3 separate regions of the Homo sapiens genome follow, and regions 1 and 3 are each linked to region 2. The links are contacts of gene promoters, found by promoter capture Hi-C in blood cells and fetal thymus (Javierre and others, 2016). All regions are on one chromosome and are shown on one strand. The core of a region is centred on a gene start or on the middle of the fragment in contact, and the rest is flanking DNA. Distances in the headings are between cores, read along the strand shown. Region 1 has its middle 41 kb from the start of FAM156A. Region 2 holds the start of FAM120C (family with sequence similarity 120 member C). Region 3 has its middle 2.7 kb from the start of RRAGB.

Evidence for each region. The method cuts DNA at HindIII sites, captures the fragments that hold promoters and counts their contacts. A CHiCAGO score of 5 or more calls a contact.
Region 1: a contact is called between a fragment that was not itself captured here and the fragment with the promoter of FAM120C in region 2, in 4 of 17 cell types (total B cells, fetal thymus, naive CD8 T cells and 1 more). The highest score is 9.1, in total B cells.
Region 3: a fragment that was not itself captured here is called in contact with the fragment with the promoter of FAM120C in region 2 in 1 of 17 cell types (fetal thymus); the score reaches 6.9 in fetal thymus.

The regions. Positions count from the first base shown.
Region 1 is chrX:52,997,681-53,001,697 of GRCh38, reverse strand. No RefSeq gene overlaps it. Among named protein-coding and RNA genes, the nearest start is that of FAM156A, 41 kb to the right of the region's middle. The HindIII fragment of the contact is 8,235 bases long and covers 1-4,017 here.
Region 2 is chrX:54,181,359-54,184,993 of GRCh38, reverse strand. It overlaps FAM120C (family with sequence similarity 120 member C), which reads left to right and starts at 1,740. Exons shown (of 16, transcript NM_017848.6): 1 at 1,740-2,494. The coding sequence starts at 1,796. RefSeq lists silencers at 1,308-1,407, 1,978-2,187, 2,198-2,247. The HindIII fragment of the contact is 3,156 bases long and covers 208-3,363 here.
Region 3 is chrX:55,713,121-55,716,967 of GRCh38, reverse strand. No RefSeq gene overlaps it. Among named protein-coding and RNA genes, the nearest start is that of RRAGB, 2.7 kb to the left of the region's middle. The HindIII fragment of the contact is 1,189 bases long and covers 1,505-2,693 here.

The DNA of each region.
Region 1 (4,017 bases), core at 779-3,278, 1.2 Mb after region 2:
GAGAAAAAGATGGGGAAGGGCTGGTCTACTAGTAATACAGTGGAGGAAGGTGGGAATAAAAGTCTACTTAGCTGTGTGGAAGAGTGGCTGGGCACAGTTAGAAATGCAGTCTTGGCCGAGTGCAGTGGCTCATGCCTGTAATCCCAGCACTTTGGGAGGCTGAGGCGGGCGGATCACCTGAGGTCAGGAGTTCTAGACCAGCCTGGCCAACATGGTAAAACCCCGTCCCTACTAAAAATACTAAAAATACAAAAATTAGCCGGGTGTGGTGGTGTGCGCCTGTAGTCTCAGCTACTCCGGAGGCTGGGGCATGAGAATCACTTGACCTGGGAGGTGGAGGTTGCAGTGAGCCGAGTTCGGCCACTGCACTGCAGCCTGGGCAACAGAGCGAGACTCCATCTCAAAAGCAAAAACAGAAAGAAAGAAGAAGAAGAAAAAAAAGAAATGAAAGTCTTGGGCCCCTCCCCAGACCCACTGAATCAGAAACTCTGAAAGGTGAGGCCCAGCAATCTGTGTTTTAACAAGCTCTCTAGGTGATTCTTGATGCACACTAAAGTTTGAGAACCATTAGAGTAATCCACAGGACCTAAGTATGAAATAGCTGGCCCCTCTTGGATCTCACCTCCTGTGAGTGTGCAGCTGGGGATGAGGCGTGGAGGATGTAACATACCATTGCGGGTACCGGAAATGAACACACCATTATGCGAGATACCATAGGGGAAGGGAGCTTCTATTTTGTAAGAATACAAATGCTGTGTGTGGAGGGACAATAAAGCCCACCCCCGCCCACCAACGAAATCAGCCCCACCTTTCGACAGTAGGGCGGGCGCGGCGGCGAGCGCCCCAGGCGGCAATCCGTCCTCCTGGTTTCCACCCAGGCCCAAGCTGACACCCATTCTCCGACTTCTCGGAGACCCCTCTAGTCCCATTTTTGGCCACGCCCGTCTCCGTTCTACAGATCTGAATAAATTAGGAACCTGCAAAGGGGCAGTCGATCGGTTGTGGGACGATCAAGGCAGGAAGGCATCAAGGACCGCTCTGGGAAGCTCACCTAGAGAGTGCGGCTCTTACAGAGTACAGCGGGATGCACTCGTAGAGCCGGGTCCCTGGGTCTTCGCGCTCGCGCACGGTCAGGCACAGTGGCTGATGGGCGGAAGTTCGTAAAGCGGAGCCTGGGCTTTAAGGACTGGATGACCAGTGGGATCCAGTCTTCAAGACTTGGACTGTTGTTCAGTATGAGGCTAAAGATGCTTCCCAAGTCACAGGCAGGGCTTAAGTGAGACCACTCGCAAGGGGTCATCTGGCGCTCAGTGCGCAGGGCTCTAAGTTTTAGGTCATCACAGATCTGACTTGCAGTGTCCCAAGCACTTCTTTCTTATGTGCCATCTCATTTAATCCCCACTAGCACCTTTGGAAGAAAGCCCTGTCACCTCTGTCGCTGATGAGGACACTGGAGCGCCAAGAAGGCAGATCCCTGGCTGGGGCCCTCCAACCAGGGTGGGGCAGAGCTGGGGCCAGATGACAATTCCCGGAGGACCGCAGTTGGGACACTCCCAGCGCTCATGCTGCCCCTGTCCCTCCCAGGGTCCCTTCTCTGTCCTCACAGACCCAGCTGGGCAGTGTCCTCCCATCTCCTGAGGTGACACTCACCCCAGCGCCTCCTTCAGGAATCCCACCCCGCCCCCTCCAGCCCTAGGCGAATTGCCCTGGACTCTCAGTCTGGGTCTGGAGTTTCATCTGGATCTGGGAGACATTTCCAGTTCTGCCCTAACAGGGATGTTGTGACAGAAACCTGTGTGGGGGCAGGAGAGATATCTGTCCTGCAAAATGGTCTGCACTTTCAGGAAGTGCAGGGAGGGTCCTGAGGGGGTCCTCTGAGGTAGGCCTAGGTGCCGGGTGAGAGGACCGAAGTGGGCGTGAGAGGGTATAACTGAGGCCCCATGACTAGGGCTGGGGTAGGGAGGTAGAGGTCCGTGGTGGAAGGGGAGCCCTGGTGGCTCACAAGGGTGGGGAGCTGGGGAGAGAGAGGAGGTGTGGCAGCTGCCAATTGGAGAGGAAGTTTGGGAGAAAGGACCAGAATGCTCAGAAGGGCCATAATGGGGGTTGCCATTGGCAGTGTGAAGGGAGGACCTCTACTCTCTCTCCAAGATCCAGTTCCCCACAGTGGGTGCTGAGAGATGGCAAAGATAACGGGGTCTAGGGGTCTCCTACTGTGTTCTGGGATTTACCCTGAAGCCCCCATGGGGCAAGATACAAAAGTCACCAGGACCAAAGGTGATCAGGGTTGGTCAGACGATGGCCATTCCTGGGAGCCAGATATGAGAGCTTACTCTCTGATCCCCTCAGTCCCAGAGGGTCCTTCCCCATCCCTGGTGTGAACCTGCCTTCCTCATGACAACAACGGTGGTGACTGCAGACTGTGGGGAACTACAAGATCCAAGGCCTCCCCATAACAGTGTTGGATGGCACAGAGATTCAGCATCACACAGCAGCCCTGAGCTGATTCTTTGTGGGTATGTGTACCAGGGTGTAGCTGGTAAGCTCTTTGTGGGTTGGTGTGTGAGGTCCTTGAGTTATTGTGAGCTGTTACCTTGAGGTAGGAATTCTCTGAGCTGGTTGGGGGTCTGTGTCCTGAGGTGTGGCATCTTTGAGCTGTTTGGTGGTTGGTGTCTAGGGTGAGAGGTCTCTGAACTGCTTGTGGGCACTGTCCTAAGGCATGAGATCTTTGAACATTTTTGTGGGAGGTCTTTGTCCAGAAGGTTAGGTCTCCGAGCTGCTCATATATCAGGATATTTTTGTGAGGAAGGCAGGATGGTCCTTTCTCTCACAGGGGTAGAACAAGGTGCCCTGGTATCAGAGAGATGAAAACATAGGATCCTTATCCTTAGGGAGGGCAAGTCCTCAGTGTAGCATGTAGGAGCCAGTGGTACAAATACTAATGACAATGTCTGCAGACATTAACCCCATCCTTGCTCAGGGCCGACCCCTGTGACAAACCCATGTAACCCATGTTAACTCAATCTGCCAAATTGCCAATGAGGAGCTCACCATTTGCAGATGAGGAGGCTGAAGCCAAGTGAGGGTAGGGCCTGTGCTCACACAGTCCTCATGAAGAGGGAGGAACTGGCTGTAACTTGGACTCACTGGAGGAGACAGGGAAAGGCTCAGGCACAGCCGGGGTCAATGGGAGATGACAAGGAAAGGGGAAAGGAAGAGGTTTGCCCAGGGCCTCAAGGGCCCCATCACTGACTCACTGGTGGGAGGTCTGCCTCTCTGTCTCTCTGTCGCACACCCTGCTTGGTAATGGATGTTGAGAATGCAATCCTCACGTTACCTGTGGAAGTGGTGGCATGAGGTAAAGAGTGGGGAAATACCACAGATTCATCCATTGGCATGAGGTCCACCAGCAAATGTAGAGATTCCTACCTCTTCTTCCCCCTTGAAAGAATTTTTTTCAGGCCAGGCATGGTGGCTCACGCCTGTAATCCCAGCACTTTTGGGAGGCCGAGGCAGGCAGATGGCTTGAGCCCAGGAGTTCAAAACCAGCTTGGGCAACATGGCAAAACCCTGTCTTTACAAAACATATAAAAAAAAATCAGGCCGGGCATGGTGGCTCATGCCTGTAATCCCAGCACTTTGAGAGGCCAAGGCAGGTGGATCACTTGAGGCTAGGAGTTTGAGACCAGCCTGTCCAACCTGGCGAAACCCTGTCTCTACTAAAAATACAAAAATTAGCCGGGCATGGTGGTGCATGCCTGTAATCCCAGCTACTCGGGAGGCTGAGGCATGAGAATCGCTTGAGCCCAGGAGGTGGAGGTTGCAGTGAGCCGAGATCACACCACTGCACTCAGCCTCGGTGACAGAGGGAAACTCTGTCTCAAAGAAACCAAAACCAAAACAAAAAAATCAGCTGGGCATGGTGGCGTGCACCTATAGTCCCAGCTACTTGGGAGGCTGAGGTAGGAGGATTGCTTGAGCCCAGGAGGTTGAGGCTGCGGTGAGCCGTGATTGTGCCAC
Region 2 (3,635 bases), core at 491-2,990:
GGCTGGGCAGACCGTCCCACACGTGTCCATTATACTAAAAAACCTCCATTCCTTCCATCCTTCATCCCTTCAAGCCACTGCTCTCTCCTTTCACTGCTTGCTTTCAAGAGTTAACTATGTACACTGCCTTGCCATCTACTTATTCTTTGACAATCTGGCTTGTTCCATCTCCACTATTTTATAATTTCTTTTATGTAGCTTGAAGCTTTTTTGCTTTTGCATCCTAATAGAGTATTCCCCTATCTCATTCATCCCGATCACTCTTGGGTTCTGCACTTCTGCATTCTAACTCTGCCTGCCATTATCTCCCATCTTCCAGTAAGTTCCAAGCCAGATCTGGCTACTACTCATTTCAGATCTTGTTTTCTGCTTTATTCCTGCTGAAAGAGTGGGCCGGCCCTAAAAGCCAGAAAGAAGACAGGCACTGCATCTGTTTCATCTCAGTATGTTGAAAATACATTTTTCAAAAGATTATGACTCCATACATCTGAAATTAGAGCCCTTGCAGCTATTTAGAAAAGCTCCCGACAGACTAAAACACAATGAAGTTTGGAAACCAAAGGCCCTAACCATAGGACATAGTGGATCTAGGAGTACCAAAAAGGTACAATTTGTAATGTAATTTGTGTTGGTAATTATCTCCCTGCCCAAAGAGATGCTGAGGGCAAGGATATTCGATTTAACTTTGTCTCTGCATTGCCTTAGGCAAGTAAATAATGTAAGTTTCTTTTTATTTATTTATTTATTTTTGAGACGGAGTCTGGCTCTGTCACCAGGCTGGAGTACGGTGACATGATTTTGGCTCACTGCAACCTCCGCCTCCCAGGTTCAAGCGATTCTCCTGCCTCAGCTTCCCCAGTAGCTGGGATTACAGGCACGTGCCACCACGCCCGGCTACTTTTTGTATTTTTAGTAGAGACGGGGTTTCACCATGTTGGCCAGGATGGTCTCGATCTCCTAACCTCGTGATCTGCCCGCCTCGGAGGGATTACAGGCGTGAGCCACCGCGCCCGACCAGTTACGTCTTTCTTAATTGGGACCAACAGCTCTTTAAATATTATCTTTCCACTAAGGGGAAAATCCTCCCTCCTGGGGAGTTTTAGCTCACTTTAGCTGAATTCAGTCAATCCACTCTAACTTCCATTCCCATGATGCATCAATCCATCCCCCAAAACTCTTTTTCCAGGAAAAAGCAGTAAATAACCTAAGCAACTCAGTGAGATGCAAGGAGTTGGAGTGCAACTCCTAAACACTCATCATCACGCCCCGCTTCCTGTGACCCTGTGAGCACAAGGGCTGAGAAGGGTGGTAGTCTGGTTCCTCGACTATATCCTAAGGCCATAGAGAAGACTACAACTACCAAGATGCCCCTCTCCCCGCCCCGCCCCGCCCCTCCTCGCTCCCCTTCCTCCAGCTAGAAAGCGTGTACCACCGAGAAGACGAGGCAACATGGCTCCCGGAGGTGGAAGAAAGAGGCTTCACCCCTTCTAAAGCGGGAAGAAGAGCGGCCGGAAAGGAGAAAAAAGAGAAGTGACTAGAGCCCATCCTCGCTTTTATCCTCCCAGCCTCTCCCGGGTCCGGTCTGCCCCTCCCCTTCTCTCTACCCAAATCCAATTTGTGGTCTCCTCCCCTCCCCGCCCTCATTCCCTCGCTTCCTCACCCCTCCCCTCGGGAATCCTTTTCCCGCCCCCCCTCGCCCCCCGCGGAGTGCGCACGCGCCCGCCCCCAGCTTCGCGCCCAGATCGTCGCCTATCCTGCTTGCGCAGCCGCTATCGCGTCTGCCCACCGACGAAGCATGGGTGTCCAGGGCTTCCAAGAGTTCCTGGAGAAGCGCTGTCCCGGGGCCGTGGTGCCCGTGGACCTCCTAAAACTCGCGCGCACGGTCTCGCGCCAGCAGCAGCAGCAGCACTTGCACCGCCAGCTGCCGCCGACTGCAGCCCTAGCGCCCGGGGCTCCACGCGCCGCCAGGGGCTCCGTGCCTCTGCAACCGCCGCTTCCGCCCGCTGCCTTGGGTGCCTACTCCGGGGGCGCGGGGCCGACTCGGCACCATCACCCCGCTCACCACTTCCACCATCATGGCCAAGCGCAGCCCGGGCTGCACCCTCCGCTGCCGCCGCCGCCGCCCCCTCAGCTGCCCGGGGCCCGGGTGCTGGTGGACGCCGGCTCGGCGCTGCCGCGGCTCTATGGCGGCTACCAGACGGATTGGGTGTGTGGCGGCCAATGGAACGCCATGCTGGGCTACTTGTCAGCGCTGTGCCAGGCTTGTGCCTATCCTGGCGGCGACGGCCTGGAGCTCGTGGTCATGTTCCCGGGGGGCCTGGGCAAGGACCGGCTGGCCGAGTGGGGCCGTCGGTGCCAGGCCGAGCGGCAGACAGCGCAACTGATCGTGGGACACGTGGGCAACAAGGGCACCCCTCCACCGCGGGCCTGGTTCCTGCCACCGGCCTGCCTGAGCCACTGCGTGAGGCTAGCACTCATCCGCTTCCGGGTCAAGGTGAGGGAGGGGCCGGATCTTAAATAATAAGCCCCACACCTATTCCCTCCCAACTAAATACCTAACCACCTACCCACTTACCCACTACCCTACCTCCCATCTACCCACCCACCTACCCGCCCAACAGCTAACCTACCTGCCTAACTACCCTCTACCATTTTATCCATTTACCTCCCCCTTCATACCACCCCCTACGGATTCACTCACCTACATGGCCATATCTCTACTCATGTCATCCCAGTAGCTCCCTTTAGCTTCCCTTATCCAATTGGCCTACCACTAGGTTTCAGCAGAATCTAGTCAGAATTTCTTTTGTAGCCTCATCTTTCTCCTGGTGTCTTCTGCCTCAAACTGAAATGCCTTTACCCTGCTTTTGCCAGTTGACATCTCTCTCCTGTATCTCTTTCCAACCTCGCAGTAAATCACTTAAGCAGGTGTGAACTGAACACCTTTCTTCTACATTGTTTTTCCGTCTTCACCCACTGCTGCTTTTTTACCCATCTGTGTCCATTCAGCCTTTTTCATTTCAACATGCATCTTCTTCCTCCTGCCTTAGCCTAAACACATAAAAACCCACTGATTCAGTCACTGTTCAGCAAGTATTAACTCACTGAGTGTAAGGGTTTTAAAGACATGTGAGACACTGCTCATGCCCTTGGAAAGTTAAATGTATACACATGAAACATTTAATTATAGCAATGTGTATGTGATTATGCCTTATGGTCCAGACAGTAAGTACAGTTCCTGTTTTCTGTATGTGGGAGTGGTGGGATATCTTTGGACTAAAGTGGTCAGGGGAGGCTTCCCTGAAGAAGTCGGACCTCACCTGGGTCTTCAAAGGTGGATTGGATTTGAATGAGTCACAAGCTTGGGAGGAGGCTGCTTTAAGTGGGAGGAAGAAAATGAGCAGAAGCAAAAAGGAATATTAAGTGTGCAAGGCCCCATAGGCAGTTAAGTCCAATCTGCATGTAGTTGGGTCACTGCATATGGGGCCTGGGGAACAGCTTGGCAGCATCCCCAGTTCTTGGCACCACTGCTGCTGCTCTGTTGCTTTCCCATACTCTTAGGTTTCAAGTTCCTACGTGTAGAGAATAGCAAGGCTTGGGAAGTAAAGGAGGTGGGCAGGAAGAAGAAAAAGAAA
Region 3 (3,847 bases), core at 850-3,349, 1.5 Mb before region 2:
TGATATGTCAGGGGACTATTATTTTTTATCTGAAGCCCTTCTGTGCTATATATATTTCTATAATGTATAAATGATATATAATAATAAGATTAATATGACATTTAATTATATTTAATATAATCAACTAATACTTAAATAATATGTTATAAATATGTTATTTTAAATAAATGTGTAGTTTAATTATATTATTTATAATTAATATATGATATACTACATGTATTATTTACACGTAAGTGTGTACATATATTACTTTGATAAGAAAAAAAGGGAAGGAAGGAAGAGAAACTGCAGGAAACAGAGTACTATTATTGAAACTGCCTTTGCAAAAACTGTAACTGAGGAAATTATGACAGTGAAAGAGATCAGACCTCACCGACTCCATCTTACATCTAACCTTTAAGGTGTCCTTGTTCATTCCTGGGCGTAGGCCGAACTAACCTTGGGAAGGAATTTAGTTTATAGTTTAACTCTGATACAAAATTGATAATAGCCCTTTCTCCCTCCCGCTGCCCCCCACTAAAAAAAAACAAAAAAACAAAAAAACCTTCTTACCTGGGAACCAGTCGGCCTTTGCAGGACTAACAAATTAGCCACAAGATTACAAGATTAGAAATTACAATTCAGGGGCCATGCAGCCTCCAGCTGCAAGAGTCTGAACCTCCCCAAATTGCTCCCAGGAATAACATCACTGTTTTAAAACCTAAGATCACTGTTTGATATGTTTTGCAGACCCTGCATTCAGATGCACCAGCTTATGATACAGGAGCGGGGCAGGAAAGTGCTGGGCAGAGAAAGGCGGGTCCGTGGCTAGGGCTCCACCCTGGGGCCTGTGCCCATGGACCTAGGTGAGGATAGGCACTCCTGCCTTCCCACCCAAATGTTATATTCACCCCTAGAGGTTGCCATGGGGTCGGAGCCCCACAGCCTGCCCCTCTGCATGCTCCCCCTAGAGGTTGTGAAGCAGTGAGCCACTCCCGCTGTGGCATGCCCTGCAAGGGGGATAGGGGAACTTCCCTCGTTTCACTTACAGCACCCAGACCAGTAATCTGGCCCAGCCAGTTCTGCGATCCCACCCAGGAACAGAAGATAGCAAGAAAAACTCACTTAGAGCCCCCTATGATTCCATATCCAACTTGACCAGTCAACACTCCCCACTTCCCAAGCCCCTACCCACCAAATTATTGTTAAAAATTTCAATCCCCCGAAACTGATTTGAGTAATAAAACTGCAGTCTCACCCACAGCTGGCTCTGCATGAATTACTCTTTCTCCATTGCAATTCCCCTGTCTTGATAAATCAGCTCTGTCTAGGCAGCAGGCAAGGTGAACCCGTTGGGCAGTTACACTGTCTGCTCCCACACTTTCCACTTGAGGTCCTGTGTGATTCCTTTTCTCCACAACTGCCTTGCCTCAAGAAAAAAGTTATTCTACTCTGATTAGTGATCCTTCGCTCTATCACTAGCTAATCTTTTGTCTCCTTCCAACCAACTACCCCCAAACAAGCTTCCATTCTGGCTTTCCTTGTCTGATGAAAGATCCTGAGTCCCAAACCAGGAAGTCACCTTAGATTCACTGCCCTCCATACGTGTCAATGAGACCAGGTCATGATCAGTCTATTTTCTACTACCTGCCTGCTCTTATTCTTACTGCCACTCTTTTTGTTCCAGCTATCATAATCTCTGGCCTAGATATCCACAATAGCCTACTAAGTGATTTTCCCACAGTGGCAGCTCCAAAGGGGTTGGGAGTGAGTGAGTTGATCTTCATTAGTCATCTCATCCCCCAAAACATTTGACGTAATTAATATGTGCTTGCTTTCTAAAGGCAGCTTTCAAATATGTCTTCCAACACCTACTGCCCCCGGGCTTCACCAGCCAAATTGGCCCCTTAAACCACTCTTTTATAAAAATGTACTGTCTCGGCCAGGTGCAGTGGCTTACACCTGTAATCCCAGCACTTTGGGAGGCCAAAGTGGGCGAATCACCTGAGGTCAGGAGTTCGATACCAGCCTGGCCAACATAGTGAAACCTCATCTGTACTAAAACTACAAAAATTAGCCAGGTGTGGTGGCACGCGCCTATAATCCCAGCTACTCGGGAGGCTGAGGCAGGAGAATTGCTTGAACTCAGGAGGCGGAGGTTGCAGTGAGCCAAGATCGCACCACTGCACTCCAACCTGGGCGACAAAGCAAGCAAAAAAAAAATACTGTCTCCCTGTTGCTGCTGGTATCCTTTTCCCCCTCCTTCAAACCATCCATCCTCTCTAAAAGCTGCTCAAGTGATCCTTTATTTTAATTAATTAATTAACTAGTTTTTGTTGAGACTGGGTCTCACTTTGTTGCCAGACTCAAACTCCTGGCCTCAAGGGATCTGCCCACCTTGGCCTCCCAAGGTGCTGGGATTACAGGTGCGATCAAATTTCTTTTTATCGTCGTTGTAGTTGTTGTTGTTCTTGTTGTTTTTGAGACAGGGTTTTGCTCTCTGACCCAAGCTGGAGTACAGTGGCACAATCATGGCTCACTGCAACCTCAACTTGAGTAATCTTTTAAACCACAAATCGGAGGAGACTACTTCTCTACTTTAAAATCCTCCCATAACTTAAGGAAAAAGTGTGTCAATACAAGGACCTTCAAGATCTGGCCTATAGCAACTCACGAGCTATATTTCTCTACCCACATTCACTACCTCACAAGCTTCATAAGGAACTGCTGATAGTTGCCTCAAAGTGCCAAGAGGCAAGAAGTAAGAAGAGGAAGAAACAGATAAAGAAGGGGAGGGGAGGGATGAAGAAGAAAAGGGGGAGAAGTGGGGAGATGGGAAAGAGGGAAGGAATAGAGGGGTAAGGAGAAGAGGAAAAAGGAGGAAGAGGGGTAGAAGGAAGGGAATGGAAGAAAGGTAGTGGAAAAGGATTGAGAAACTAAATCAAATAAGCATAGATTCCAAATAATGGTGAATAGGGCCAATGTGCAGTGCATTCCTATTGTAAATCAAAAATAAAATACCAAGGTTCCTCAACCATTTGAATGTGCTTTCTCCTCGGCCAGGGCACTCTTTAAAAATGTATCCTGAGTGACTTTCTGGCCATGACAGGAAGTAGGGGTCAAACATGCCTCATTATATTTCTCCAGCTTTAACATCAACACAGACCTTTAAATCTGATAAGAAGCATTTACATTCTATTCTTTCTGAACCTGCAGGCTTCCTGCATGATTAAACTTTAGTCTCCACAACCTCTTATCTTAACCCAAACATTCCTTTCTATTGATCCTAGGTCTTTAAACTCAACCAATTGTCAACCAGAAATTTTTTCAATCTACCTATAAGCTGGAAGCCCCCCTCCCACCCCCACTCCGAGTTGTCCCACCTTTCTGGGCCAAACCCATATATTTCTTACATGTATTTGACTGAAGTCCCTTGTCTCCCTAAAATGTATAAAACCAAGCTGCACCGCAGCCACCTTGGGCACTTGTTTTCAGGATCTCCTGAGGACTGTATCACAGGCCATGGTCACTCCTATTTGGCTCAGAATAAATCTCATCAAATGTTTTCCAGAGTTTGACTCTTTGTTGACACTATATAGTCCAGCAGTTCAGATTCTGGTTTCTACCCAGGTACCTTTGGCTGCTTATTTTTCACATTTTTATTCTTAAAAAAAAAAAAACCCTTACATACATAGGAAGCGGAGGTCACTTTTTATTTTTGTTGAATTAATTTTTAAACATTTAATTATAGGTTCTTTTCAGAAAGTGTGAACTAAGCTCTATTACTCACACATTCATTCAACAAATGTTTATTGAGCAGCCTTTCGGTGCCAGGAACTGTGTTGGACAGCAGGGATACAAACATCAC